Linked DNA regions of Homo sapiens: region 2 is linked to region 1. The links are contacts of gene promoters, found by promoter capture Hi-C in blood cells and fetal thymus (Javierre and others, 2016). All regions are on one chromosome and are shown on one strand. The core of a region is centred on a gene start or on the middle of the fragment in contact, and the rest is flanking DNA. Distances in the headings are between cores, read along the strand shown.

What was found. The method cuts DNA at HindIII sites, captures the fragments that hold promoters and counts their contacts. A CHiCAGO score of 5 or more calls a contact.
Region 2: a contact is called between a fragment that was not itself captured here and the fragment with the promoter of SBSN in region 1, in 4 of 17 cell types (M2 macrophages, M1 macrophages, M0 macrophages and 1 more). The highest score is 6.0, in M2 macrophages.

What each region holds. Positions count from the first base shown.
Region 1 is chr19:35,526,888-35,529,587 of GRCh38, forward strand. It overlaps SBSN (suprabasin), which reads right to left and starts at 1,424. Exons shown (of 4, transcript NM_001166034.2): 1 at 1-1,424. The coding sequence starts at 1,394. RefSeq lists enhancers at 128-629, 2,075-2,575. The HindIII fragment of the contact is 2,098 bases long and covers 1,051-2,700 here.
Region 2 is chr19:35,411,072-35,414,115 of GRCh38, forward strand. LINC01531 (long intergenic non-protein coding RNA 1531) reads left to right here. Exons shown (of 5, transcript NR_040046.1): 4 at 91-211. Among named protein-coding and RNA genes, the nearest start is that of LINC01531, 7.0 kb to the left of the region's middle. The HindIII fragment of the contact is 289 bases long and covers 1,580-1,868 here.

The DNA.
Region 1 (2,700 bases), core at 174-2,673:
GTATGGTGAACTCCCTGGCCAAACTGCCCTGCCTCCTTCCCGGCCTCGTGGACCCCAGGTTGGACACCATGAACTGCTATGTCTCCCTCTTTCCCAGCCTGCCCTGCTGTGTGGTGAATGTCGTGGCCAAACTGCCCCGCCTCCCTTCCAGCCTGACTAACGCCATGATGGAGGCCTTGGACCACTCTGTCTTCCTCCTTCCCCACCTGCGAGGCAGCATGGTGGACACCCTGGCCAAACTTCTCTGCTTCCTTCCAGGCCTCATTAACCCCATGGTGGACCCCATGGCCGAGCTTCTCTGTTTCCTTCCCAAACTGACTGGCAGCATGGTGGACCCCCTGGCCAAACTTCTCTGTCTCCTTCCAGCCCTCACTGAGACCATGGTGGACCCCCTGGCCAAACCTCCCAGCCTCATTTCCGGCCTGCCCCGCAGCATGGTGGGCCCCCTGGCCAAATCTCCCTGCCTCATTTCCGGCCTGCCCCGCAGCATGGTGGGCCCCCTGGCCAAACTTCTCTGCCTCCTTCCCAACCTGACCAGCAGTATGGTGGACCCCCTGGCCAAACTTCTCTGTCTCCTTCCAGCCCTCACTGAGACCATGGTGGACCCCCTGGCCAAATCTCCCTGCCTCATTTCCGGCCTGCCCCGCAGCATGGTGGGCCCCCTGGCCAAACTTCTCTGCCTCCTTCCCAACCTGACCGGCAGCATGGTGGATCCCCTGGCCAAACTTCTCTGTCTCCTTCCAGCCCTCACTGAGACCATGGTGGGCCCCCTGGCCAAATCTCCCAGCCTCATTTCCGGCCTGCCCTGCAGCATGGTGGACTCCCTGGCCAAACCTCCCAGCCTCATTTCCGGCCTGCCCTGCAGCATGGTGGACTCCCTGGCCAAACCTCCCAGCCTCATTTCCAGCCTGCCCTGCAGCATTGTCGACTCCCTGGCCAAACTTCCCTGCCTCACTTCCCGCCTGGTTGGCCCCGTGATGGACCCCATGATGGATCAGTTTGTCTGCCTCCTTCCCAACCTGTCCAGCAGCGTTGTTGACCCCATGGCCAAGCTTCTCTGCTTCCTTTCCTGCTTGTCCAATACCATGGTTGATCTCATGGGCAACCTTGTCCATGCCGTGGTTGAGCCCCTGGACGCCTTTGTCCAACTCCTTGCCGGTGTGGCTCCCCATGTTGCTAAGTCCGTTGAAAACCTTCTCCACTTCCCTTCCGGCATGCGTGATTCCACTGTTGATGCCATCCAGGGCCTTGCCCACCTCTCTCTCTGCATTGCTCAGCCCTCGGTTGATCCCTTCAATGACCTTCTCAATGGGGTCATCGCTGGCCGCCCATCCAGACAGGGCCCCCAGTAGCAGAAGGAGGGAGCAGGAGCCGACCAGACGTGCAAGATGCATATTGCTGGGAAGGTCGGGAAGGATGCAGAGAGGAGCCAGGGAAGCCACGCTGCTATTTATCCTCTCTCCCTCTCGCCCTCTTCTCCACCCCTCATGACTCAATTACCCCTGTGAGGCACTGAGTTGGTCTTCAGTCAAGGAGGTGTTTCCCAGGGAGATTTGGAGTTGAGCAATGGAGAGGAGGAGGAAGAGAGGGTGAGTCATGGATGGAGAAGAACTCTGGCATCTTTGCTCCTTGCCCTCCACCCCAGAGATGGGTGTCTGCCCTTCCAACCACCTCCTCTTTCATTCCTCACCCACTGTCCAGGCCTCCTCTCTCGCAAACCCACCTTCCACCATGCTCCATCCCTGGGATGCAGGCAATTCTTCAACACCTCACTCCTCTCAGGCATCTAAGCCTCCAGCTCCCCAGGCAGTGAGGGGCTAGAATGATGGGAGGCACCGTCTGGAGAGGGGAGAACACTAGGTGGGATGAAGGAGTCATCAGACCTCGTTCTTGTGGGCCAGCCCCTGCCCTCACTCATTCCATTCCAGCCACACAGGCCTTCTCCCTGTTCCACAAACACACCAAGCTCATTCCTGCTGCAGGGCCTTTGCACATGCTCCTCTCTCTGCCTGGAATGCAGAACCCAGATCTTCACGTGGCTGGCTCCTCCTCATCCGTACTTGACTTAAATGCCAACTTCGCAAGAAAACCTCTCCTGACCATAACATGGCATTAATTATACTCTGTAGTATCACCCTTTTGTTTTCACAGAAAAAAAAAATCTGAAATTACCTTTATTTTTTATTGCCTGTCTCACCTACTAGCAATGTAAATTGGTCGTGTTGATCACTGCTGTATTCCTAGCTTCTTGAACACTGCCTGGGGTTCAGTAAATATTTATTGACTGGACAAATGGATGGATTCGAACAGGCCAAGGAAAGAGACTCCGAGCCCGAGTCTGGGTCTCACAGGGTGCTGGAGGGAAGGGCGCCTGGGTCGCCAGGGCAGCATAGAGTCCCTTGTGGAGTGCCGCAGATTTTGGAGGCAGGATCCCATTCCTGTCGCAGAACCCAGACCTCCTGCCTCCCAGCCCTTGGGCAAGGGCAGGGGGCTGATTGCCACGAGCTGGAACAGGACGCAGTGTCTCCTGAAAAGCCGGTTGAGGCAGCCACGGGGAGGGGCCGAAGACCCAGGGCAGCAGGAGCCTGTGAGCCAGAACCTGGGCTGGGGCCAGGCCCTCATCCTTCCTGCCCTCCCGACATGGGGCCTCCTAAGCCCCAACCTGAAGCCCCAAGTGTTGACATATTGGCTCGGGTTGGA
Region 2 (3,044 bases), core at 474-2,973, 120 kb before region 1:
GTCTACCATATTATTTTGTGCTTTTTATTTCCCTCATCTTTTATTTTATTTTATTTTATTTTATTTTATTCTATTTTATTTTATTTTCAGACACAGTCTCACTCTGTTGCCCAGGCTGAAGTCAACGGCATGATCTCAGCTCACTGCAACCTCCACCTCCTGGGTTCAAGCAATTCTCGTGCCTCAGCCTCCCAAGTAGCTTGGATTACAGGTGTGTGCCACTATGCCTGGCTAATTTTGGCATTTTTATTAAAGACGGGGTTTCACCATGTTGACCAAGCTGGTCTTGAACTGCTGACCTTAGGTGATCCAACCACCTCGGCCTCCCAAAGTGCTGGTATTACAGGTGTGAGCCACCTTGCCAAGCCATCCCTCACCTTTTAATATTTCTTTTTTTCTTCTCTCTAGCCTTCTTTTGAGATTCAGTTCGTTTATTTCTTTTCTTTCTCATTTCATTTATTCCTCCACTGACTTGGAAACTGTATGTTCTGTTTCCATTATTTAGTGGTTATTTTAAACACTGTAAGATGGTAGGAGTTCCTCAATGAGTTACTCCCTCCCTCCCTTCCTTCTTCCCTTTAATACCACACATCAAGGAAAACCCAACCCAAGTAGCTTCGAACTATGTGAATCTAGGGCAGCAGTTTTCAAAGCACTGTCTGTGAGGTCAAAACTATTCATAATGCTATTAAAATGCTGATTGCTCTCTTCACCTTCATTATCTCACAAATAATGTGCACAGTGGAGGTTTTGAGAGCTACGTGACGTGATATCATGACGGAATGAATGCAGACCAGATAGGAAAATACAGCTGTCTTCTATTAAGCCAGGCATTAAAGAGATCTGCAAAAATGTAAAACAATGCCACTGTCACGAATTTTTTGAAGATATAGTTGTTTTTTCTAGGAACGTGTCATTTATATTAACATGTAATGGTTTTATGGTTATTATTATTATAAGATAAGTTAATACACATTTTTAAATTTTTCTGTTTTAACTTTGTTTTTTTTTTGTTTTTTTTTTTTGTTTTTTTTGATACGCAGTTTCACTCTTGTTGCCAAGGCTGGAGTACAGTGGTGTGATCTCGGCTCACCGCAACCTCTGCCTCCTGGCTTCAAGCGATTCTCCTGCCTCAGCCTCCCAAGTAGCTGAGATTACAGGCACAAGCCACCATGCCCGGCTAATTTTTGTATTTTTAGTAGAGACAGGGTTTCACCATGTTGGTCAGGCTGGTCTCGCACTCCTGACCTCATGATCTGCCCACCTCAGTCTCCCAAGGTCCTAGGATTATAGATATGAGCCACCACGCCTGGCAGGAATTTTCATTTTTGCTTTTCTTTCCTTTTTTTTCTTTTTTCTTTTTTTTTTCGAGACAGTGTCTCACTCTGCCACCCAGGGTGAGTGCAGTGGCATGAACACAACTCACTGCAGCCTCGTCTTCCCAGGCTCAAGCAACCCTCCCACCTCAGCCTCCCAAGTAGCTGGAACTACAGGTGCACGCCACCATGCTCAGCTAATTCTTGTATTTTTTGTGGAGATGGGGTTTTGCCATGTTGCCCGGGTTGGTCTCAAACTCCTAAGCTTAAAGCAATCCACCTGCCTCAGCCTCCCAAAGTGTTGGGATTAGAGGGGTGAGCCACCACACCCATCCCTTCAGTAATTTTCAAGAGTATAAACCGACCTTGAGATCCACAAGTTTGAGAATTGCTGACCTGGTGAGATGACAGACAGGATTACTCTGCTAAGTGCAATTGTGCACATATAAAACCTTCTGCTACCTGATGTGTCTTTAATGATTCGAAATTTCATAAAGTCTAATGCCACTTAACCTCTCAAAGTGAGTTTAAAGTTTGCCTGATAAAATGCAAAGCTTGTTGAGATATTAAATATGATACTTAACAATCAGAACTATTCCATGAGGAGATAAAGAAGTAACAAAGCCGGCTCAGATGGATGGGATGTAATTGCGCCGCACAGACCTGTATTCACCATGTTATGTTAGTTCCTGTTCTAAAGATGCTTTTTTTTTTTTTTTTTTTTTTTTTTTGAGACAGAGTCTCGCTCTGTAACCCAGACTGCTGCAGTGCAGTGGCATGAGCTTGGCTCACTGCAACCTCCGCCTCCCAGGCTCAAGCAATTCTTATGCCTCAGCTTCCCGAGTTGCTGGGATTACAGGCATGCGCCACCACACCTGGCAAATGTTTGTATTTTTAGTAGAGATGGGGTTTCACCATGTTGGCCAGGCTGGTCTTGAACTCCTGGCCTCAAGTGATTCATCAACCTCAGCCTCTCAAAGTGCTAGAATTACAGGTTTGAGCCACCGCGCCTGGCCTAAGGATTGTTTAAATTGGAGTTTTTCTTCTTGTTTTATGGGGAAGGATTACTTCATCTACAATTAGGTGGAATATTAACCCAAACTATATGTAGGATTTCCAATCTTAGAGGCTATAGGAACTGGGGGAGAAGGAAAGCATAATACTAATTATATTTGTCCTATGTCATCCTAGGGAAAGTGCATATTTAATTCCTGTCAGCAAAGATTAAAGAAAGATTTTCAGGGCAAAAGTTATAAACAGGCTTAGTGTGTTTTATTTTGAACGGGGGAATTCACAAAGCCTTTGTGAAAGCCTCAATTTTACTGTTAGACTACTTGATAGCACCTAGTTAATATAAGCTAGGGCGATTCAACTAGTTCCATTGCACCTCCCGGTAAATAAATGGTTCCTGAGGCATTGTGTTAAGCGAGGAATGGAAGTTTGAAGGTTACCGGCAAGGCTCCTTCAGCCCTCTCCGGTTTTCAGGTTAATGGTGGGGAGAGTGAGTGTCCACCAGAAAGGGACTGTGATGTGACGTTAGGTCACTTGATTTCTGTAAACTTATGGGAGACCTTTCTCCTAAAGATGGGCTCAAGATGCCACCATTTACAATGTTACTCTCAATGACCTTGGGGAAGTCCTGCTCCTAGGGGTGGGACACAGTGATAAGAGGGAGGGGTGTGCCGGGCATGGTGGCTCATGCCTGTAATTCCAGCACTTTGGGAGGCT